7 separate regions of the Homo sapiens genome follow, and regions 1, 2, 3, 4, 5 and 7 are each linked to region 6. Evidence: promoter capture Hi-C in 16 types of primary human blood cells and fetal thymus (Javierre and others, 2016). All regions are on one chromosome and are shown on one strand. Each heading gives the region's core, a stretch centred on a gene start or on the middle of the fragment in contact. The rest is flanking DNA. Distances are from core to core; before and after follow the strand shown. Region 1 overlaps MARCHF4 (membrane associated ring-CH-type finger 4). Region 2 has its middle 16 kb from the start of RPL37A. Region 3 overlaps SMARCAL1 (SNF2 related chromatin remodeling annealing helicase 1). Region 4 overlaps SMARCAL1-AS1 (SMARCAL1 antisense RNA 1). Region 5 overlaps RPL37A-DT (RPL37A divergent transcript). Region 6 holds the start of PECR (peroxisomal trans-2-enoyl-CoA reductase). Region 7 overlaps SMARCAL1 (SNF2 related chromatin remodeling annealing helicase 1).

Region 1 (3,118 bases), core at 541-3,040, 290 kb after region 6:
TCCCACTGCCTCCCTTTCATTCCTTTCTAACTCATTTTCCTTTTTAAATTTCATCACAGAGCTTAAATCACCTTATTTACTTACTAGTTTACTTGTCTATTTATGTGTCTCTACTAGAATGTCAGCTTCAGGAGAGCAGAAATCTCATCTATTTTGTTCACTCCTGAATACTCATGCCTGGAACAGCAACGGGCACACTGCAGGTGCCCCGAAAAATTTGTTAAATAAACGCATGCACCAATGAATGGATGCAAAGTCCTTTGTAGATAGGTACAAAGGTGAAACTAGCTGGATTCTCTTGCTGTTCCTCACCACAAATATTGCAAGCTGTTGGCAGGAAAAGATCAAATACTCATTTTTTGGCAGTCGTTTAGCCCCTATAGCAGTAGTAAATGATTGGGGTGATGGGGAGCAGGGAGGTGGGGGTCTGCTTAATTCCTTTGTTTGGGCAGAGATAACACCAAGACATTCAGCTACTAAGATTGCAGCCCACATTTCCTCCAGGGCCATGTGTAGACAATTGCTGGACAGCTCTCTCCCTGAACAGAAATTAAAACACAGAAATTTTAGCGTGTCTCTCTCTCTTTCTCTCTCCCCCTCCCTCCTCCTCCTCCTTCTCTCTCTATCCCTCTCTTTCTCCCTCCCCTTCACTGCTGTTGCCTCTCTATCTCTCTCTTCCTTTTCTAGAGTTTCCCTTATCTCCCCTCCTTTGTCTCCTTCATAGAAATGCTGTGAAAAAAAAAATGAGAAGAAACTGGGAAACTGTGTTCTCCACATCTAATGCAGTACTCACATTGCTGTTATTACTACTATAACACAATCCCATTAAAGCCTCTTGGCTCCTGCACAGATAAGGTAAACCCCCAAAACAAAATAATCATATGCAGGAAGTGCTTAATTTGATCCAGTCTTAATGCAGACAGGGCCCCCTAATCCTCCCACATAATAGAGCCCATTCCTTTACTGGTGTTAGCTTTTTTATTCAATGCTTTATTTATGACACCCCATCAAAATAATGAACAAGAAAGGAAAGCTTCTAACCTCTGACCAGATCTTGTATCACATGAGGGTATTTCACAATATTGCCAATGATTTTTTTCTTTTTCTTTTTTCAATAAAATACAGCTTTCTGTTATCAAAATACATGCTCATTATATATAAATTCCTTCCAAGATATTTTTACACTTCTTTTCTCCTGGATTCTCCCAACACACCTCTGAGGAAAGGAGGGGGGGGCATGAAAAGGTGTCTCCAAATCACGTAAGTTGGAAAAGCAGCCCAGAGGCATGAAGCTATTTGAAAAAGTTCACACAGTGGGGGAAATATTATCCCAGGGCACCTCCAAGTCCTGCTGTTTTCTAGAGACAAGAATGCTCTTGCCAGAAGCCACACTCTCAGAAGCCCCTGTGACATGCAGACCTGAGCCCATATGGGAGAAAAAAGAAATGCCTTAGGAATTTAGGAAGCCAAATAATTCTTTCTTTTGGAGAGTATGAAGTACTTGATGGTGGCAAGATCCTGATATCAAAGTGAGGCACCCTCTTGTTGTCAGCCGAGCCACTCTACCCCATAGCTCTGCCAGAGCCTGGTGCTGGAAGTAGAGAGAAAGAATGAAGGGAAGGCACTCTGGAGGATTTTTCCTAACAGGAGTTTTCAACTCTGGACAACACTTTATTGGATACTTAGGTAATCTTAAGATGGAAGAACCCAGCCCCCAGCCTCTCAGAGACATTTATTCACACTAAGATCTATATCACTTCCCCTCATAATTCCAAGCTGTAGCTCCAGGGATCACTGGTCCCCAGAGTTCTTTGTCCATTGAGAGCAAAGCAAGAAAATGAATGAAAATGCCAGCTAAGCCTGCATCTTACAGAGCACACCCTCAGCAAGAACCAGAGCCAGTCAAAGCCTGGCATGGCATCCTACTGCACTGCCACTTCCTCAAGGAGTATCCAGAAATCCTCCCTGCACTTCAGGAAACTATTGAAGAAGTGGCTGATAGGAACACATAACCTTGCCCACCTTGCAATTGAATACTCCTTCTCCAGCATCACTAACTGCGTGAGCCTTTCTATCTGTGATTCTTTGGAGAGTGTTGCCACATTCTATAGTTCCTGAAGAATGTACACATGCTATCCAGCATTGCTGATACTAGATTGTAGGTGAACTTGGGAGGGGTGTCTGTGAAAATCTGAATGAATAGGGTAGGGAAAACCTGCCAGACTTGGAAAAGCCCTGGTGCATATGAGAGTTGGCATCCCTATCCTGGATGGGGAGCATTTAAGGGATTTTCTAAGTCAACACACTTTTTAGGTCTGAAAAGGGAAATAGCAAGATACCTTATTGCCTACGTCAGTCTCTTAAACTCATTCTCATTCCCATTTACCTGCCTGTTTTCAACATAGAAAAATTTGAGTCTGCCAAGAAGTGTCTCAGCAAATCATATAGTCTTGGACCTAGAATCCCTCTCCATTTCCTCCTCAGTTGCTAGAACATAATGCTGAGGATGTCAACGTGATATGAAAGGAAGTTGTCCAAAGTAAAAGAACAAGCTTACTGGATTTCAACCTATGAGAAAAGGAAAAGAGAACAAGATCTCGGCATACTCTCAGAGCAGGAAGAAGTTGGGATATGGGACTGAAGATGGGCTAGACGAAATGTTACTAACAACAAGTTAGATAAAAGGATATCTTGGCAACCAGTGTGAATGTACCACCAAGTTTCTTCACTCCGTTGTTTCTAGATCTTCTATTCTGAGGATGTTTGTAAAATTTGGAGTTGGAATTGGAGACACTAGCATTGGAAGGAAAATGCAAAACCTAGAACACAAACGAACCACCAAACAGGCTCCACCAGGAACCAGACACTCATTGGGCAAACTTAACCACAAGAAACATCAATGAGGGCTCTTAAACATAGAGTCCTCATACTAAAGACAATATAACCGTTCCCCAGGGCAAGCAGGCGAGTAGCAATCTGCAAGACCTGAAAATACCACAGGAAGCAGGAGAAGAGAAAAGGGGACTCACCTGTTCTGGCCCCTGGAAGCAGATGCGGCAGAGTGGGGTCCTCATACCACTGTCCAAGCTGCTGCCCAGTGAGTAGCGATCCTCGGTCT
Region 2 (3,455 bases), core at 152-2,651, 430 kb after region 6:
CTCAGGGAATTCAACCTTGGTTCCATTTAAATTGAAATCTTGAGTCAGTTCTCTGATCACTTTGAGCTCATTCTACTGCTGAACCAGCAGGCAGAAAAGGTGGTCTCTCCAGATTATCACCTTTACCATCCAATAATTTCAGCTCTGTGCTTCAGATACCTTGCCATATCAAAAGAAAATATCCAGAAAGAAGCACCAAAAAAGGAAAAGAACAAATACGTGTACAAGACATAGGAGCTAGTTAAGAGTTCTTTTCTTTTTAGAGACAGTCTCCTCTGTTGCCCAGGCAAGAGTACAGTGACACAATCATAGCTCAATGCAGCCTGGGACTCCTGGGCTCAAGTGGTCTTCTGGCCTCAGCCCCCCGAGTAGCTAGGCCAGAAGCTACTGTGTGTTATGCCCGGCTTATTGTTATTATTATTAGTAGTAATAGTAGTAGAGATTGGATCTTGCCATGTTGCCCGGGCTGGTTTCTTGCTATATTGCCCAGGCTGGTTTCAAATTCCTGGCCTAAAGCGATCCTCCTCAGCCTCCCAAAGTGCCGGGATTACAGGTGTGAGCCACCATGCCTGGCCTCAGTTATAGTATATAATTGGAGTCCCACAGGAGAAAGGAGAGATGATAATGGCTTTTTTTCCCCCAAAACCAATGAAAGATACCAAGCCACAGTTTAAAGTATCCCTGTAAACTTACACAAAATAAAAATTTAAAAGTTACACCTAAGAATGTCATAGTATTACTGAATCCCAGAGAAAAAGAGCATAATAAAAGCAGCTAGTAGCAAAAAAGGTGTAACACTAACAGTTAACTTCTTAACAACCATAGAATCTAGAAGAAAATAGAGTTATACTTTGAAAGTGCTTCAAGTTCTGTACTCAGCAATTATAACATCAGAATATGAAGGTGAAACAAAGACAGTTACCTCTGCCACCACCACCAATAAAATACTGACGGAATTGATCACTAGCACACCCACACATCACACAGAAGGCAAATAATCCATGGATGAGACTTGAAGGAAGGAGTGGCAGTCAACAAACGGGAACTATGTCAGTAAATACAAGTGAATTTAGACCACATGAATAGTAGCAGCAACAACTTTGGGGAGTGAAACGAAAATGTATTACAGCAGCATATAAATTGGGAAAGGGTAAATAGTGTTAAAATATTCGAAGGTTCTTGCATTGTTCTGGAAGAAGTCAAACTACAAAGTTAGTATATGTTGCAATCTCTGATAATCATGAAAAGAATAGAAAGTAATATATAACAATACAATGGAAATAGAATTGAAAAACAGAGGAGAGAGAAAAAGAATTTGTAAGACAAGTAGTACCTAGTAAGGTAGATTTAAACGTACCTGTGCACACATGTATATACATACACACACACACATATATATATAGGCACATTTATATATATTTATATCTAAATTTATACATTTGTAATATATATAATATAGTACATATTACATGTGTATTACAATATTACATATTGTATGTAACATATGCCTGTGTACACATGTATATATACACACGTATATAATATACATATTATATATATAAATGTGCCAGTAATAACTTTGCATACAAATAGACTAAGTGTGTCAATTAAAGATATAGTCAAATTGGATTACATACCCAAAGTATAAGGATTAAAGAAAAACCTAAAGCACAAGGAATCAGATATAAAAATAAAATATAAGGAAACAGACTCACCAAAGTTATAAAGATACCGAAAGAGTGAAAGTAAAAGGATGGAAAAAGATATAACAGGCATTTAAGAAATAATGATCCATGAAATGAAAGCTGTGTTAATATCTGACAATGTGGACTTAAAGGCAAAAAAGCATTACTAGAGACAAAGAAGGACATATATATTGTTAAACATATGGAAAACGTGCATGATTTTTCAGCAATTCTGGGGCATTGATATGAAACACTAGATAAGTAGGTGGCAATGGCTCTGAAAATATTCTTGAGGTGCAAATTGAACAATTAATTGAAGAACTTAGAGAAACACTGACTAGAGAAAATCAAGGGGCTGGCTATGGTGGCTCACACCTGTAATCCCAGCACTTTGAGAGGCGGAGGTGGGCAGATTGCTTGAGCCCAGGAGTTCAAAACCAGCTTGGGCAACATGGCGAAACCCTGTCTGTACAAAAAATAGAAAAATTAACCAGGTGTGCTGGCATGCGCCTGTGGTCCCAGCTACTTGGGAGGCTGAGGTGGGAGAATGGCTTGAGCCCATGAGGCAAAGGTTGGAGTGAGCTGAGCCGAGATTGCACCACTGCACTCCAGCCTGGGCGACAGAGCCAGATCCTATCTGAAAAAAAAAAAAAAAAAAAAAAAAAAAAAAAAAAAAGCAATGGCAATGAACAAGACGACCCAGCAAGTTGGAATCATCATAAGCTGGAAAACGTGAATTTGTTAATTTCTAAATAATAGAAATCTCTATCAAGCAAAACTTAAAATGTTAAGAAATGTTTCAGCACTCAAGAGGTAGCAGTAATAGATGCTAACCATCTTTTTTTTTTTTTTTTGAGATGGAGTCTTGCTCTGTCGCCCAGGCTGGAGTGCAGTGGCATGATCTCGGCTCACTATAATGTTTGCCTCCCGGGTTCAAGTGATTCTCCTGTCTCAGCCTCTCAGTTACAGGAGATTACAGGCGTGCACCACTATACCCAGCTAATTTTTTTTTGTTGTTGTATTTTTAGTAGAGATGAGGTTTCATCATGTTGGTCAGGCTGGTCTTGAACTCCTGACCTCAAGTGATCCATCTGCCTTGGCCTCCCAAAGTGCTGGTATTACAGGCATGAGCCACCACGCCTGTCCAATGCTCATCTTTTTTTAAAAAAATAGACTTTTCACACTGTACAAGAACCAACACCTTTGTGATTTGTTTTCTGTTCCTGAAGCCTGCCTGTTCCATTTTGTTTCCTGAGCTGGCATTAAACATTGATGTATTCCTTAAAATGTCTCTTCTGTTTTTGAAACAGGGCTTTGCTCTGTTGCCCAGGCTGGAGTGCAGTGGCATGATCACGGCTTATTGCAGTCTCAAACTCCTGGTCTCAAGTGATCCTCCTGCCTTGGCTTTCTGAGTAACTGGGACTACAGGCATGCACCAACATACCTGGCTAATTTTTTTATTTTTAGTAGAGACAAAGTCTCACTATGATTCCCAAGCTGGTCTCAAACTCCTGAGCTTAAGCGATCCTCCTGCCTCAGCCTTCCAAAGTGCTGGGATTACAGACATGAGCTACCGTGCCTGGCTATTCATAACAATGTCAAGAGGGAAATACAATCGTTACTGTTGCATGTATATCACCATATTCACTATTTGTTTTGTGTACTGACGTAGGTGTCACAGTATAGTCAATAGGTCCTCTAGTTTTTGAAGATTTACATAGTGCACTTTAGCCTTGGAACTTAGTTCATTTTCATACATTTTTGGGGAAC
Region 3 (3,172 bases), core at 254-2,753, 370 kb after region 6:
ATTACAGGCATTTATGGTTGGCAGGAAGTTGGCATCCCCCTTTTTACAGAGAGGGAAACTGAGGCTCACAGAGATTGCAGTTTGCCCAGGGTCTCTTAGCTGCTCCACCACAGAGCTGAGGCTAGAACCAAGCCTCTTGCCCCTATATTTTAGGACTGTTTTCACTATGATGGTTTTATCTTTTCAAACACTTTTATTTCTGTCTTTAGTGTCATACTGTGCTAAGTGCTATAATCTACACCAGCTCTGTTTCTGTCCTCTTAGATAAAACCTTGTAATTCCCATTACTAAGAAAATAACAGTCATTGATATTTTTCAACATCATGAAGCATTATCTGGGCTTGATATTACCCTGTATAAAGATATTTAGATGTAGATCTCAGCCTTCTGGGAGGTTACAAAATAAATAAGAATGACAAGAGACAGAATGCATGTTTTTCATGTTATTTTACCATGTGATGAGCAAGATTCATTGATAACTTTTAAGAAATGACAGGATAGAGGATGCACTGGCAAATTTTCAAGCTGTATTGAATTTATGCTGTATTACATATAATAATCTGGATGGTCTGGAGTAAGTGAGCAGGCATCATCTCTTTATTGTGGAGTTTTCAAACTTAAACAACATCGATGTAGACATATAGACCAGTGTTCTCAGATTATATTTCAGTGGAATCATGAGTAAAACCAGGAAGCTTTGTCACTAAAATCAATCTTGGTGGTCTTTTGTTTATTTTTAGAGATAAAAATGCAATGAGTAGATTATTTTTTCTCAATTTGAAGTTTTTTCTTATAACTTTTTCTTAATAACTTTCGTCTACTGGTGAACTCTACCAGACAAGAAAACCAGTGAACTGGTATAGCAAATATAATATTAATGGAAAAATTCAGACATGCAATATTTTTAGATGCAAAGAGCTGAATATTTATAAAATGTTATTTTTTTTGCCAGCAAAGTTGTTCCTTGTGTGTGTGAGATGGAAGTAAGTCTGTTAGTGTTTCGTGAGATTCCCCAGAGAACACCCTCACCAATACCTGGTTCACCTCCTGAACCAGTTTGAGAACAGCCAAGGTAGACACCTGAAAAAGCAATTAGTGGGCATTTGAATTAAGGAGGAAAAGCACATTAACTTGTTGAAACACAACTGTGAATTGTGTAGTATGGCCAAAAAGAAAAAAAGAAAAGCAGTAGAAATTTTGTGCTTAGTGCAACAAGATCTGAAAGCATTTTGTAAACTTCTGCCAACTTGTATAGTTCTTCAAGTAAAGGGAGTGGCTCTTTTCAAAGATGATTTCAGATGTCACCTGAGAGTTTGATTTCTGAGCTTGTTGGTGATGCTATGAAATTAACTAGGAGGTACTATGGAATTTAGGAATGTTGGGTGTTTTATAACTTTAGGTAGCTATACAAATCCAGTATTTTTGAGGATATTTTTATATTTTCTTGCTTAGAAACGGAGCCACAACTCCCTTTTGGTTGTGGAAAAGTACATAAGGATAGTGCCAGTTGCCCAGAATCCTGCCTACTGGGTGATTATCCTCTTTGCTTTGTAAACACCACAGTGTTAACTCCATTTTGCAGATGATGAAAATGAAGCCTAAATTGCAGTGTCATTCTTCAAGAATCCAGCTGAGAAAGAGCCCGGAGCTCTTCTCAGTCCAGCACCTGAGAGTTGCTGTCTGCTTCCTTGGAGTCTTAGGAAAGTTAAACGTTTATCCCTGAAAGATAGAGATTGAGTTGGTACAGATTACCATCAGTGTGATGGCTGAAGCCAGACACTAAATTCTTTCAGATAATAATTCCTTAAGAACTTGATGCCTTTTTGTGTCTTAATAGAAATCAATTTTTATAATGGAAAATCCAAGTAGAAAACAGATTTGTGTGTTTGTGCTTTGGGCCATCAGAACCTTTGGATTTCTAAAGCCATTGATTTAGTGCATTTCTAAACCATGGATCTGATCAGGATCATTGCTCTAACTTAATTCAGGAAGGGAGCCAGCATCAGCTGGAGGCTGGACTAGATGACCATAGGCATGTCTTCCAGACCCTGGCCAGCTATGAAATCCTGAGTTGGAAGGGTTAAAATGGGGACTTATTTTTTTTATGGTTTTAGTTGAATAAGGAGGCCCTGTGGATCTATAGAAAGTCCCCTCTCTCCACTGCCACCAGTTTTTTAAGTTACTTTTTAGTCCCAAGTTTCCTTGCAATTTTGCAAATCATGGTGACTCCAGCCAAGCACTGCTGACCTGCCTGTCAAGAATTGATTCTTTGTTCCTTCACACCTTTCCATCTGGAAGAATACATTTCTTAAAAAGCTTTATATCACAGGAGCCAAGGTGAAGGAGCCAATTTATAGAATGTAATGTATAATCAAAGACTTTTCTCATTTTTTCAGCTGAAATAATGGATATCGCTTCACAGGCAAAGGAAAGCTGACTGTAATCATCTTTTGTCTAAAGCCATTTTTTCATCCTCAAGACCAGTAACAGAGAAATGGAACAAGTCCATACAGATTTCCTGGTAACAATATCAGTTCACCCTTGCCATTTGACAATCCACTCAAATTTCCAATGTAGAAAAATTTAAAAACTCCATTGGATCTAATTTAATTAAGGTCTAGTCAGGAACAAAGAATGCAGGTTATTTAAAATTTCCTGGCCAGTAGCTGGCAAAAGAAGTAAGATCATTAATAGAGAGTATTAGGTCTGCACAGTTTGGGGGAGTTTTTTTAAAGCTGAAACTATTGATTTCTCCCACATTAAAATAGATATCTATTGTATAAAATCTGAAAAATAAAGAAAAATACTTACAATCAGTAACATTTATTGAATACTTGCTCTGTGCTGGGCATGGTGCTTTACGTGTATTGCGTCATTAAATTCTCACCATCAGCCCAGATATTTGAGCCTCAGAGCCTGCACTTTTAAGTGCTACAAATTCTGGTTCTACCGTTTAGTAGCAGTGTGACAAGTATACTCATTTGACTTTTTTTGCCTCAGTTTCCTAATCTGCACAGTGGTAAAGTAGTGCCTCCCTCATAGCAATGCTGATTATTAAATGAGTTAATGCATATTTAGTTCTTAGAACACTGCTTGGCCCGTAATAAGTGGTATATGAGAGTTAGTTGTTATTTTTATTACTATACTATAAAAAAGAATCATCTTGGGGCGG
Region 4 (3,110 bases), core at 297-2,796, 320 kb after region 6:
GTTTCTCACCATGTGATGCCCTCTGCCAGGTTACGACACAGCAAGAAGGCCCTCGCCAGATGCATCTCCTCCATGTTGGACTTCCCAGCCTCCAGATCCCTGAGCCAGATAAATTTCTATGGTTTACAAATTACCTAGTCTGTGGTAGTCTGTTACAGCAATACAAATGGACTAAGACAATTATCATATCTAACAAAACAAAAATTCTTTCAAATCATCATGTATCCATTCAAATTCAAAATTTCTTGATTGTGTCGAAGTAAGGTTTTTTTAAACATTAATTTAGTTTGATTCACATTTCAATTTTTAGTCTAGCACAGGATCACCCACGAGGGAGCATTTTGAAAAAGTGTGGAGTGTTTTTGGTTGCCCCAATGATGGGTAAGGGGCTTACTTCTGGCAAGTAGAGGCTGGGACCCCAGGCAGCTCAATCTTTTACTATCTGTGAGACAATCTCACCATCTCATATATACTTACCCTATGCTCCACACAATTTTCAAATGTTCTACTAGATATTTACAGAGTTGTTTATAACTTGCTTATAACTATCTGAGCTTTAAAAAGTAACAATTTTATATGTAAACAGAGAGACTTTTTAAAAATGATTTTTAATATGCACTAACTGTATGCTAAGAATGAAACTACTCTGTAAATTAAGGGAAGATTAGAGTTTGTGTTGTTAATTTCTTTACCAGATTTGCTCACTCTTTTGGAAAATCACATCATTGACTGCCACACCACTCATGGTAATTGAGTCTCCAATATGCCTGTATTAGTTTTCATTCATAGCTGTCATAACTGTGGTGTTTTGCTTTTAGGAAATAGTGCCTGTCTTATCATGTATCCCGCATAGTCCTCTCTGAGTTGTTGGCTATTGAAATACACCCCTATGTGTGATTCCTTAGCTTCTTCCTACTCTAAGTGTTGCTCAGTCCTTCTCATCATGCCTGAACCAGATACTGTGGTCTCCAGCTGTCTTTCTCTTAGAATAATGTCCCAGCATTTAGGTTTGGTTGGGGACGGGAGCAAGGGGTGGGCATGAATTTCCTGAGCTTCCCTGGCATTTGCAGGGAGACAGCAAGGGAATACCTCTGTGGGTCACAACAGAGGGAGAGCCAGCTGAGCTTGCAGGATGGAAACATTTAGTAGGCTCCCTCCAGCCATCACTGTCTCCACTACTGCTGACGCCACCATCCATAACAAAGCTTCCAATTTGCAGGCTTCAGATTCAGCTTCTGTTTCCTGAGTGCCTCCACTATACCAGCCATTGGGCCAGGCATCCAGAAGCCCTAAGGTAGACCTCATCATCCCTGTTCTACAGGAGAGGAAAACCAAGACTTGGCTACTACAGTATACAAAGGGTGTGGAAAAGTCCTCCTAGAACCCTTACCCTGCTTCCAGGAGGAGCTGGACAGTTCTTTCCAAGTCCAGGCAGAAAGAAGTCTCCTCTTTTTCCATTCTCTTTGTTACTTTATATGTCTGTGCAGGCTTGGTTGAGGAAGAAGGGGGGCCAGAAGGAAGTCTGGCCAGATGGCAGGGTAATAAATGACTCTGACTTAATAATTTGTTGCTCTCCTCTTAATTAAAAGGCTTTTCCCTAAATGATTTGCTGATCACACAAACAGCACACACTAGTTGGGCGAGGACTGGGGGCCCAGGGAAATCTAGACTGAGAGGAGAAGGCATTGGAATAAAGAGGTGGCAGATGGCAGAAGAAGCCCACCCTCCATGTCCCAGGGTGGGCCCAGCTTCAGGAGCTCCCTCCTCCTCAGGTCTGAAACAATTCAATCCAATGATAGAGCTTTGGGGGACTGGTTCTTCTTTCAGGCCTCAGCTTTTCTGGAAGCTGACTTTGCCAGGGGGCTTTTTAATTTCTGGGATGAAGATATAAGCTTTATTTTATCTAACACGTGGCTTTGCATTCAGTTTCCTCAAAGCCCCATGTGGCCTTGGGGGGTGATCAGGTAGCCTTTGGACCATTTTGCATATAAACTGTCACTTATACACTTGATCAACTGGGGTGGTGGTCATAGAGGGGGACAGGGCACCCATTGTTCCAAGCAGCGTCCTGTCAATATCTGCAGTTGCAAGCAAATGACACTAGATAGTGTCAATGGATAAGCTCTCTATTGCATCTTTACAACTGCAATTTATAAGTTCCTGGGATTAAAATCTGCTTTCCAGCAATTATCACACAGAGGTATATTTTCAAAGCCTCACATGTAATTAGAACATGTTATTGATAAAGTGCTAGCTAAAGATTTAGACTTTGAGTCTGTTCATGAGGGATCAGTTTTGTTAATATTGATAATGTTTTCCCCCTTTAATGCAGTTAGGAGTTAGATTGAGATGCCAAATTCAATCAAAATGCACATCTTATCCCCCGCCAAGGGACTTCTGGCTCTCTTTTACTTGTTCAGACTTGTAGAAAGGACCCCAGAGATCGTGTCATATAGGAAAACATCCTGCCAATCTATAACTCTATGTTAAAGAATAAACTCTTTTACACATTATTTTGGTTAACTAGATTTTTCTCAGCATTTGTGCTTCCATCAGATTGGATCATCCTTGCCATAACCACCATCTTCCTATTATTGCTGGATTCCAAATTTCTACTTAGCCAGTTCAGACACCACTTCATCCGCTTAACCTTCCTGATTCTGTATTCCCTGTGTCTCCATCATCAGAGCTCCTCACTAAACCCCCAAGGCCATTTATCTGTGATTGATTGATTGATTTCTTTTTAGAGACGGAGTCTCACTATGTTTCCCAGGCTAGAGCACAGTGTCTATTCACAGGCATAATCATAGCCCACTAAGGCCTTGAATTCCTGGGCTCAAGCAACCCTCTTGACTCAGCCTCCTAAGCAGCTGGGACTACAGGCACACACCACTGCACTGATCTTATCCACAATTCTTTTTTTATTATATTTTCCACACAGGTATTCTCTCTTCTCCTAGTCTTTAAGTTCCTTGAGACAAACTTTCTTTTTAGTGTTTGTATTTCATCTGTTGGCAACAGTATCTTGCACACAAATCATAAAGACCAAGTTGAAGAGGCTTCTTACTTTGTTTCATCAGTCTGCTAATATGTTATCAATATCACACTAG
Region 5 (3,433 bases), core at 375-2,874, 410 kb after region 6:
CACTTGAACCCGGGAGGCAGAGGTTGCAGTGAGCCGAGATCGTGCCACTGCACTCTAGCCTGGGCGACAGGGCGAGACTGCCTGGGCAACAGAGCAAGACTCCGTCTCAAAAAAAAAAAAAAGAAAGAAAGAAAGAAAAAAAGAAAAAGAAAATAGTATGTTGCAGAAGCTTTTGTGTTTTGCCGTTAATGTTTAGATCTACAATCCACCTGCAGTTTATTTTTGTATATGGGGTGAGGTAAGGCCAAGGTTAATTTTTTCCATATGAATATGCAGTTAGCTCGGCACCACTTATGGAAAAGACGGTCCTTCCACCTACTGCTCTGCAGTGCCTTCTTTCCAATATTATGAACTGGATGTAAAAATACATCTAAGGCTGGGCGCAGTGGCTCACGCCTGTAATCCCAGCACTTTGGGAGGCCAAGGCGGCAGATGAACTGAGGTCAGGAGTTTGAGACCAGCCTGGCCAACATGGTGAAAACCCATCTCTACTAAACATGCAAAAAAATTAGCTGGGCATGGTGACGGGCGCCTGTAATCCCAGCTACTCAGGAGGCTGAGGCAGGAGAATTGCTTGAACCCGGGAGGCGGAGGTTGCAGTGAGCCGAGATCGTGACACTGTACTCCAACCTGGGCAACAGACAGAGACTCTGTCTAAAAAAAAAAATTCATCTAGAAAAGTATAAGCTCAAAAATAAGAGTCCTGCATTCTCCTCCCTCCCTCCCTCAGCCCTACCTCCTAGAAGTAATAACTAAATAATTTGAGATAAAGCCATTTGTAATTTATCTCTATGCATACAAATATATGTAAAATACACATAGAATCTGTTTTTACAAAAACTGTATCAAATTCTTCATACTGAAAATGACTCACTTCACATGATGTACTTGGCCATTGTTTCATATTGATCTACCCATTAAATTATGATTTATTTATTTATTTATTTATTTATTGAGACAGAGTCTGTCTCTGTCGCCCAGGCTTGAGTGCAATGGTGCGATCTCAGCTCATTGCAACCTCCGCCTCCTGCTACTCGTTAAATTAAGCTTAACCCAGTGCTGCCTTGTTACATATTTTAAAGTCCGCCTAAAGGTTTCTCTGTGCAGAGTGAACTATAACCTAACTAGATTGGTAAACAGACTGGGACCCACTCTTGTAACAAGTAGCCAAGTCTCAGGCAATTACCGCAGCCATATGTCAGCCAATCACAGGTGGCCAACCGTTCACACTGTGTTCAAATAAGGCAAATATGCAACCAATCCAGCTCTTTCTGTCCTCACTTCCCTTTTCTGTATGTTACTTTCTTTGTTCTGTCCATAAATGTGAACCAACCATGTGGCAACCCTGGAGCTGCTCCGGACCTCTTCTGGTTGTGGGGGCTGTCCAATTCACAAATCATTCTTTGCTTAATTAAACTCTGTTAAATTTAATTTGTTGAAAGTTTTCCTTTTAACATACCTTATCCCACTTAAGAGTTGCCAAGTAACTACTCCAGTCTTTATGTGTGCACTTCCTGTGTAAATGCTCTGTGACGGGTCCATTAATAACTAGAACGAGTTTAAATGGAATTTGAGGGGAGAAGGAGGAAAGGAAAGAGGGGTTGCCTGAGTCAATTTCCCACACTCTTATTCTTTCGGGGCATCCAGGACTGCCTTGGAGGGCCTCACCTTTCCTGCTGGGTCAGCTCTTGCCTGTGGCTCTGGCCTCACGGGACTCTCAACAATGCTGTGCAGGCCCCACTCTTGTCTGTGGCCCCCAGGGGCTTTGTGGAGAGCAGGCTCTCTTGAGGCATGAAGTGAAGGAACCACGCCCCAATAAACCCTTTCTGTCTCCAGCACAAGATGAATTTGGAATGATGCTTGCACCTCAGATTTCTTTCAAGAATAAAATGTTCCATATGCCCCAAGAGAACTGGTTAACAGCTACAAGAACTCCTCTCTGGAGGTGACTTTTAACTTATTTATTTTTCTAAAGGCAAAGAGTGAATGTTGAGGGCTCCTTAAGAGCAGAGGTGAGCCAGCAGTGATTTTTACTGAGTCTTTTATGGGGACACATTATAGTTAACATTCTCCACACCGGATGGTACTCTAATAGGGATGGAAATTTATGAGCCCACAGAAAAGACAAATTGAGACTTTAGGAGAGGGCCGATTCTCTGAAGTCACTCAGAGCTGATTTCATGAGTGCTATTTGTACATCCTCAAGCTTGCTATTTAAAGATAATTGTTCAGTTTTGACAAAATTGCTCTGAACATGAACAATTTCCTCCTATTATGGAGTGTCTCATTTTCAGCCGCTTACTGCATTCCTACTCATGCATTCCCTCTTCTCTTGCTCTCTCTCTCAGACCCCCCTGAAGGCCAGAGACGTAGGAGGCTCTGCAGCGGAGGGCGTGGGGGAGGCAGCACATTTGCTAAATGATGATCTGAATTAGGCTCTAGTGCCAGCCCAGGATGGCTCACCTCAGCTCTGCCTGGACTGCCCCAGCATGAAGCTGACTCACCCACTCCCCAGCTCAATTGAGCACCATCCTGTGTGGCCAAGAGGCACAGTCTGAAAAGGGAGGATCATGGTGAGCATTTGTTTAAGACTCCTTCCACTAGTCTCCTTTGTTTGTATCAACATGGATATATTTTTGTTTTAATTTATAGTTTTCTGGAGGCAGGCATTGCTTGGGTGGAGAGCTTTCCAGATAACATCCCTGAAATGCAGTGCATTTCCCTTCTGAGGGAAGAGGGACTTGTTCCCTTGGCCCCTTGCCATCTTCCACCCTAACCTATGGGGGCAGAGGGTGCATGAGGCCTGTGGTGGAAGAGAAACATCTTGGGCACATCTCACTCCCTTTGTGGGCCTCAAGCGGCATCAGTTACCATGACTGTAGTGGTTTCATTGTGTCCAAGCTAAAGAAATTAAGGAGAAAAGAGATGGGCATATTTTTAAGGGAAAGAAGAAGGCAGATCTTCTGTACTTCCTTGAGTATGGCAGAAGAGGAGAGAGGATTGAAAAGGCAGAAAGAGATGTTGAAATCAGGTAGCAGCAGCAGCAGCAGCAGCATCTCAACAAACATACTGGCCACTATTTTAAAATGTTCACTAGACACTTCATGGAAGTTATTTTATCTTCCTGAGACCCTTTATTGTACAGTATACTCATTTTGCAGCTGCGGAAAGAGACTTAGAGACTTGAATCATGTGATACAGTGGAGCGAACACACGTTTATGTGTCACTTAATGGCTATGTGACCTTGGGCAAGTCATTTGACCCCCCGGGCCTCAGTTTCCAGTTTGGGCTACATTATCTCTAAAGCCTTTTTCAGTTCTGACATAACTGGACTGACTTTACAAAGCAGAGAAACCCAAACACATGAAACGCTTCATATACCCATCACCATTATACCATGCAAGGTAACAATCCCCCATTCAACAGACATTA
Region 6 (3,353 bases), core at 738-3,237:
AAATACAAAATTAGCCTAGCAAGGTAGTGCGTGCCTGTAATCCCAACTACTCGGGAGGCTGAGGCAGGAGAATCGCTTGAACCCAGGAGGCGGAGGTTGCAGTGAGCCAAGATGGCGCCACTGCACTCCAGCCTGGGCAACAAGAGCGAAACTCCATCTCAAAAAAAAAAAAAAAGTAAAATTGGAATGCTATTAGGTTTAGAATTCTACTTTTCCCAATAATATGGTATGCATTTCTCCAAGTAAGTCTTCAATAGCAAGATATTTATTTATTTATTGAGATGGAATCTCGCTCTGTTGCCCAGGCTGGAGTGCAGTGGCTTGACGTCAGCTCATTGCAACCTCTGCCTCCCAGGTTCAAGCGATTCTTGCGCCTCAACCTCCCAAGTAGCTGGGACTACAGGTGTACGCCACCATGCCTGGTTTGTATTTTTAGTAGAAATGGAGTTTCACCATGTTGGCCAGGCTGGTCTCAAACTCCTGACCTCAGGTTATCTGCCCGCCTCGGCCTCTCAAAGTGCTGGAATTACAGGCGTGAGCCACTGCGCCAGGACCAATAGCAAGATATTTAAACGGAAGCATTATATTTCATTGTTATTGATTTAACTATTTTCCTTATATTGGATTTTTAGGTAATTTCCATTTTTTCACTACTCAAGACTACATCCTTGCATGAAAATCTTTGCTTGACTCCGTTTCCTTAAATTCCTGAAAAAGGAATTACTGTCATAGAGCATAAACATTGTGAAGGTTTTTGGATCTTTTTTTCCAAATTGCCTTCCAGAAAGTTTGTAATAATTTACATTCCTGCCTTCTCATTCCTGCATCAACACTTTAATTTTTCCCAACATTTCAAAATTTTGTTAGAAAAGTTAAATCTTACTGTTTCATATTTTATTACCAATAAAGTTGATTATTTTTTCATATGTTTCTTGCCTGTCTGTAGTTCTTCTTTTGGAACGCTTAGTCCATACCATTAGTCTAATTTTTCTATCAGTGTGTTGGATTTTTTCTTTATTTGTAAGAGCTCTTTATGTATAAGGCTGTTGGCCGAATCTAGTGGCTCAGCCTGTAATCCCAAAACTTTAGGACTCAGAGGCAAGGCAGGAGGATCCCTTGAACCCAGGTGTTCGAGACCAGCGTAGGCAACAGAGTGAGACCCTATCTCAAAACCAACAAACAATTTATCTTATGTTGCAAATATTTTTCTTCATATGCCTTTAAACTTTATATATTTTTTTAATTCAATGAGGATTTACACTTTCATACAGGTAGATTGATTTATGTTCTCCTTTGTGGTTTATTCCCTCACTTATGTGTTTACAAAGGCCTTCCTTCACCCAAGTTAAGGTAAATATTCAGCATATTTCCTTGCTGTGGTTAAGAGATGTGAGAAGATACTATGAGAGACTCACTATGTTCACAACTTTTTCCAGTTAAATGAAGTCTTCCCACGTTTCCTAATCACTCACATTAAGCATATAGAATGGATTAATTTTAAATCTGAATATAAAACTAATTGCACAGCATGTTTCACTGCTCTTCTTACTGCCTACCTGGGGCACAGTCTCTTTGGCCTGAGTGGTCTCTTCAGTTTTTAACGAGTGGCTCCACAATTCCTTAGGAAGAGCTGCTCTCTTCTGTCTCCCTGGTGGTCGTAATTTCGCCCACACCTGCCCCGTCTTTGCTCTGCAGCTCCACACTCCCTCAGCCCCGCCGAGAGCTCCTGGCTCCCGTCTCCAGGTTACCCCAGGTCACCACAGCCACCTCTCTGCACCAGCGGCCCGCTCACGTACCCAGCTCCAGGAGCTCCTTCACGATGGCTTTTCCGATGCCCGTGGCCCCGCCGGTGACGATGGCCACTTGGCCCTGCAGCAAACCAGGCGCCAGGTAGCTCCTGCCCTTAGCCCAGGAGGCCATCCCTGCAGCGGGGTGCCAGAGCAGCTGAGCGCAGGCCCTTCTGGGTCTCAGGGACATTCGAGGCGGGCGGGCGGACAGGGCGGTGCTCGAGCCCACGTGACCACCAGAACCCCGCACCCTCCCCGGCCCGGCCCCGCCCCGCCCGCCGGCCGCGGCAAAGCCGCATCCTCCCGGAGCAGAACCGCTCCCCGCCGGCTGTCCGCAACCTCCGCCAGCGTCGGTCCCTGGGCAGGTGTGGGTGAGACTGCTCGTTCGTTTCTTTAAATTTCGATGCCATTGGGGAGGGTGGAAGGGAAATGCAAAAAAAAAAAAAGAAGAAGAAAGAAACAAGCAGGGTGTGCTCTATTTCAAAAATTCAATCCTCAGGGCTGAAGCTCTCACGATTAATTAAAATTAAATCTCCAGTGCAGCTGGAAAAAGAAAGGCTGCTGCTCGGCGCCCTCGCTGCGCCCGCCTGCCGGGGTCGGACGTCGGCGATGCTGTGGCTCCAGGTGCTGTGTGCCGCTGGCTGGGAAGGGGAGAAAGGGCAGGCTTAGCTGAGGGGGAGAAATGCGGCTTTCAGATCCTTTCATCCTTCGGGAGGGAGCCCGGGAAAGAGAGTGAAGGGGAAGAGGAGATGCGGTTGCAGTTTTCCACAGAACCAAGAGAATAAACGATTTGAAAAAATAAACTCAGGCCCACCTCCGTCTCACCTCCCACTCCCCACCCAAGAATCAAGGGGAAAGATCATCTTTACCAGGTTTGAGACCTGATCCATTTCAGCTGAGCTGCATAGCGAGTCCAGAAGAGGATCTTTCCTTGAAGGGTGCACGCTTCCTGCAAGATGCATCTGTAGGTGTTTGAGATCATGTCCTGTAGTTCATTCCTTGTGCAGGAGGGTGAGCCCGCTGAGGATGGGGAAAATTTCTCGTCTGTGTTATGGTGCCCAGTAACAGTGATTTATTATTCAGATCTGCTCCTTATTTTTCATCTTGCTTCCCGCTCTGAACCCACCAGAGTGAGATTACACCTGGACTGGCCTACTGAGACTTCACCCTAAGAACTTGGTCGAATGTGCCAGTTGCTGTGGTCTTAACAATCCAGATGGGATGCTATTTCTAAGGCTGTTGTCAGAGTGTTGCATTTTCCCCGGACAGGTATTAAAATAATATAAAGGCAAATAAATGCCATCATCCTTTTGTTGGACCTACCACCTAGGATTCACAAAGCCAATTGGAAATGGGTCTGGTTGACAGAGGAATCAGACCATCACTTCCTCCACCAGGTCCCACCCACCAGCGAGGCTGCAGTTCTTGTTGGACAGCTACACTTCCCTGTTGCTCCATCCTCTTGTCCTTCTCTGATCTCTTTTTAGAATCACTTCTCCCTCTATCTTTGTTGCTGACAGATTCAAATCTACACTCGTTAAAGAAAGGAATAAATCTCCTGGTTAC
Region 7 (3,484 bases), core at 763-3,262, 350 kb after region 6:
GTGGCCTTCACCCAGCAGTGCTGACCCACCGGACATGAGGGCAGATGAACTCATGCCCCGGGAAATGTGCCATCCTCACCTTGTCTGCCTTCAGTTTTGCCATAGCCAAAGGAGGCCGCCTGCTGCTCGCTGACGACATGGGCCTGGGGAAGACCATCCAAGCCATCTGCATCGCAGCCTTTTACCGGAAGGAGTGGCCGCTCCTGGTGGTGGTGCCATCCTCCGTGCGCTTCACCTGGGAGCAGGTTAATGGTCTTCAAATTGCAGTTTTCACAGAGAAGGTTTTCTTCAGTGTTAGAGTCATAAAATAATGGTTTGCAGACAGGGCCTAGGGATCTTTAAGGATCCTGTCTCAAGTAAAGGCAAAGGCAGGAAGAGAGATGAGATGCCACCTGAGGGCAGGCTGGGGGTTTTCTGGATTAGAATCAGGTTACACCTTGAGGGAAGAAAGCCAAGGAGAAACCGGCTTAGAGACTTGTGTTCATCTGTCAGCAGGCACTTCTGGGACCTCTGTGCCCTGCTAATAATACTTTTCATCTGTACCACACTTAATTTTTTTTTATTTTTCTTTTTTATTGTTTTTTAAAATTTTTATTTATTTTGAAACTGGATTATGAGACTGGCTAGTTTTTGTACTTTTTGTAAAGATGAGGTTTTGCCATGTTGCCCAGGCTGGTCCCAAACTCCTGGGTTCAAGTGATCCACCTGTCTTGGCCTCCCAAAGTGCTGGGATTACAGGAGCCACTGTGCCCGGCCCACACTTAATTTTTAAAATATTTTTACCTCCTGTATTTTCCTCAATCCCATGACAGTCCTGTGCAGTAGGTACAATAGATAGTAACCCCATTTATAGATGAGAAAATGGAATCTCAGAGGTTAAGCTCCATGCTTCCTCTTAATGAGGAGCCCTGGCGGATCTTGATGTGGCATCTTCTGACTTCCCAACTCAGGGGTTTTGCACTCTGTAGAGGGGGGAGTGAGTGGGATGTTCACTGTCTGCCAGGTAGCTTTATGGATCCAGAGCCTGACAAGAAAACTGTATCACTCACCCTTGAGCTTTTTTTGCTGTAAATCCAGGAATCAGAGTGCTTTTGTGAAATGAATAAAAAGCCCATGAACAAACTCAGTGAAGAAGGAAGACCTGGTCCATCGTCCACAGCTTTTTCTAGCTTTATGCCACTGACGTCAGCCTGGGACTTCTTCCTGAGGCCTCCATGAGCCATTCATGCAGAAGAGGCAGCTCCTCCTACTGCCGGTCAGTCCAAGGCCCAGATGTGCTATTCTGACCGAAGAGATGGCAAAAAAAAAAAACACTAAAAAATGTGCACCTTGTTTTTTTTCTGTCCTGGTGATCTGAGTTCTTTTTTTTTTTAATTTTAATTTTTTATTTTATTTTTTAATGAGACAGGGTCTCATTATGTTGCCCAGGCTGGTCTTGAACTCCTGAGGTCAAGTGATCCTTCTGCCTTGGCCTCCCAAGTCTTGTGAATTCTGCCAGTGCCTGTAGAAAGTAATCTTCAGAACATATTTTGTGTGCGTTAGGTTCCCACAGCACCCTCAGAAATTCTAGGAAGAGTCAGCCAGACGGTGACCAGCCTGAGGTTAGAGAAAAGGCCAGCCCTCCCTGTATTGAACAGTGTCACCCCATGTGAGGCAGGTGAGCACCCAGATGCCTGGGTGGGTTTGGCTAGAGATGCTCAGATTGCCAGAGAGAGAAGGTAGATTTGTAGAAATATCGACATAAGTAGTCTCGTCATCATCAATAAATGTTTATGATTTGCCTTCAGTGTACCAGGCTCTGCTACATCGTTCATAAAATTCCTCTTAAAAAGAGTCGCATTCTTTCCCTGCAGAAACTTACCATCTAGTTAGAGATCACAGAAATGAAACCCAGACACTGTGAAGTGACTGTTGACAAAGGCAGGGAGATAGCGAGGCATGGTGGTTCAGGCCTGTAGTCTCAGCAACTTGGGAAGCTGTGGCAGGAGGATTGCTTGAGGCCAGTACTTCAAGACCAGTCTGAACAACATACTGAGACCCATCTCTTTGAAAAAAAAAAAGAAAGAAAGAAATTAGCCAAGTATGGTGGTGTGCACCTGTAGTCCCAGCAACTTGGGAGGCTGAGGCGGGAGGATCACTTGAGCCTAGGAGTTTGAGGCTGCAGTAAGCTGTGATGGTGCCACTGTACTCCAGCCTGGGCAACAAAGTGAGACCAACACAACTCTCTATTTTTTTTTTTTTTTTTTTTCTGAGACCCGAGGTTTCTCTCTTGTTGCCCAGGCCGGAGTGCAATGGCGCGATCTCGTCTCACCACAACCTCCACTTCCCGGGTTCAAGCGATTCTCCTGCCTCAGCCTTCCGAGTAGCTGGGATTACAGGCATGCACCACCATGCCCAGCTAATTTTGTATTTTTAGTAGAGATGGGATTTCTCCGTGTTGGTCAGCCTGGTCTCAAACTCCCGATCTCAGGTGATCCGCCCTCCTCAGCCTCCCAAAGTGCTGGGATTACAGGTGTGAGCGACCGCACCCGTCTCCCCCAACTCTTAAAAAAACAAAAAAGGGAGTGTCCTGTTAGTGGCAAGTGAAGGGGCACAGGTAGGTGAGAGGAAGGTAGAGGTGATGGCTGTTGATGGGCATGAGACTGCTGCTGTCACAACCAACAGCTGCTGTGCTGGGTGGTCATTGTAGCTTTGTTCCCTCCTGTCATCCACAGGCCTTCCTTCGGTGGCTGCCATCTCTGAGCCCAGATTGCATCAACGTCGTGGTGACTGGGAAGGACCGCCTGACAGCTGGCCTGATCAACATTGTCAGCTTTGACCTTCTTAGCAAGTTGGAAAAACAGCTAAAAACCCCTTTTAAAGTTGTCATCATTGTAAGAAACTTGGCAAAGTCTTTAAGTACTTTATCTCTCTGGAAACTTTCTTTGTAAAAGCTCTGAGAACTTTCATGTCTGTAATCTCCTTGAGCCCCATTTAGTTTCTAGAAGAATAGAAATCACTGTCTTTATTTTGTGGGGAACTGGAAATTCATTCCCCTCAAATAGCCATTCTCAACTCTGGCTACGTACTAGAATCTCTTAGGGAGCTTTTTTTGAAATTGTGATTTAATTAGTCTTTGCTGGGGATTTCTAGCTCATCTCTTTCCCAGCGTGACTCATGGATGGAGGCCAGCATGTGGACCCCAGGCCACCTGGGGGCTCTGGGTACTACAACCTGGACGGCAAGGGGGTGTGCCTACATCTGGTGCCATCTTACTCAAACAATTGAGTTTTCTTCCAGCCAATGTGAAGATACACCCCCACCCCACAAAAGCACTTTTTACTCTAACTGTTTTTTGGAGGTTTTTCTGTGTTGTTTTTTTTGAGACAGAGTTTCACTCTTGTCACCCAGGCTGGAGTGCAGTGGCGTGATCTCGGCTCACTGCAACCTCTGCCTCCCGGGTTCAAGCAATTCTCTTGCCTCAGCTCCCCAAGTAGCTGGGATT

What was found. Contacts are between HindIII fragments. The CHiCAGO score rates a contact against its expected background, and 5 or more counts as called.
Region 1: a fragment that was not itself captured here is called in contact with the fragment with the promoter of PECR in region 6 in 1 of 17 cell types (activated CD4 T cells); the score reaches 5.7 in activated CD4 T cells.
Region 2: a contact is called between a fragment that was not itself captured here and the fragment with the promoter of PECR in region 6, in 1 of 17 cell types (activated CD4 T cells). The highest score is 5.7, in activated CD4 T cells.
Region 3: a fragment that was not itself captured here is called in contact with the fragment with the promoter of PECR in region 6 in 1 of 17 cell types (neutrophils); the score reaches 6.1 in neutrophils.
Region 4: a fragment that was not itself captured here is called in contact with the fragment with the promoter of PECR in region 6 in 7 of 17 cell types (neutrophils, activated CD4 T cells, naive CD4 T cells and 4 more); the score reaches 14.1 in neutrophils.
Region 5: a contact is called between a fragment that was not itself captured here and the fragment with the promoter of PECR in region 6, in 3 of 17 cell types (neutrophils, activated CD4 T cells and total B cells). The highest score is 7.2, in neutrophils.
Region 7: a contact is called between a fragment that was not itself captured here and the fragment with the promoter of PECR in region 6, in 1 of 17 cell types (neutrophils). The highest score is 6.7, in neutrophils.

What each region holds. Positions count from the first base shown.
Region 1 is chr2:216,366,716-216,369,833 of GRCh38, forward strand. It overlaps MARCHF4 (membrane associated ring-CH-type finger 4), which reads right to left. Exons shown (of 4, transcript NM_020814.3): 1 at 3,030-3,118. Among named protein-coding and RNA genes, the nearest start is that of MARCHF4, 4.2 kb to the right of the region's middle. The HindIII fragment of the contact is 1,519 bases long and covers 1,032-2,550 here.
Region 2 is chr2:216,513,382-216,516,836 of GRCh38, forward strand. No RefSeq gene overlaps it. Among named protein-coding and RNA genes, the nearest start is that of RPL37A, 16 kb to the left of the region's middle. The HindIII fragment of the contact is 4,644 bases long and covers 1-3,455 here.
Region 3 is chr2:216,451,551-216,454,722 of GRCh38, forward strand. All of the region lies in intron 12 of SMARCAL1 (SNF2 related chromatin remodeling annealing helicase 1), which reads left to right. Among named protein-coding and RNA genes, the nearest start is that of SMARCAL1-AS1, 41 kb to the left of the region's middle. The HindIII fragment of the contact is 1,621 bases long and covers 694-2,314 here.
Region 4 is chr2:216,398,189-216,401,298 of GRCh38, forward strand. The region is part of intron 1 of SMARCAL1-AS1 (SMARCAL1 antisense RNA 1); the gene reads right to left. LOC107985984 (a long non-coding RNA gene) reads left to right here. Exons shown (of 3, transcript XR_001739880.2): 3 at 1,220-1,560. Among named protein-coding and RNA genes, the nearest start is that of SMARCAL1, 13 kb to the right of the region's middle. The HindIII fragment of the contact is 687 bases long and covers 1,204-1,890 here.
Region 5 is chr2:216,490,727-216,494,159 of GRCh38, forward strand. All of the region lies in intron 1 of RPL37A-DT (RPL37A divergent transcript), which reads right to left. Among named protein-coding and RNA genes, the nearest start is that of RPL37A-DT, 6.3 kb to the right of the region's middle. RefSeq lists an enhancer at 1,841-1,900. The HindIII fragment of the contact is 1,159 bases long and covers 1,046-2,204 here.
Region 6 is chr2:216,079,822-216,083,174 of GRCh38, forward strand. It overlaps PECR (peroxisomal trans-2-enoyl-CoA reductase), which reads right to left and starts at 1,988. Exons shown (of 8, transcript NM_018441.6): 1 at 1,797-1,988. The coding sequence starts at 1,920. It overlaps TMEM169 (transmembrane protein 169), which reads left to right and starts at 2,098. Exons shown (of 3, transcript NM_001142311.2): 1 at 2,098-2,158. RefSeq lists enhancers at 1,590-1,669, 1,700-1,749 and a silencer at 1,940-2,199. The HindIII fragment of the contact is 11,582 bases long and covers 1-3,353 here.
Region 7 is chr2:216,432,624-216,436,107 of GRCh38, forward strand. SMARCAL1 (SNF2 related chromatin remodeling annealing helicase 1) reads left to right here. Exons shown (of 18, transcript NM_014140.4): 8 at 95-245; 9 at 2,715-2,873. Among named protein-coding and RNA genes, the nearest start is that of SMARCAL1-AS1, 22 kb to the left of the region's middle. The HindIII fragment of the contact is 9,837 bases long and covers 1-3,484 here.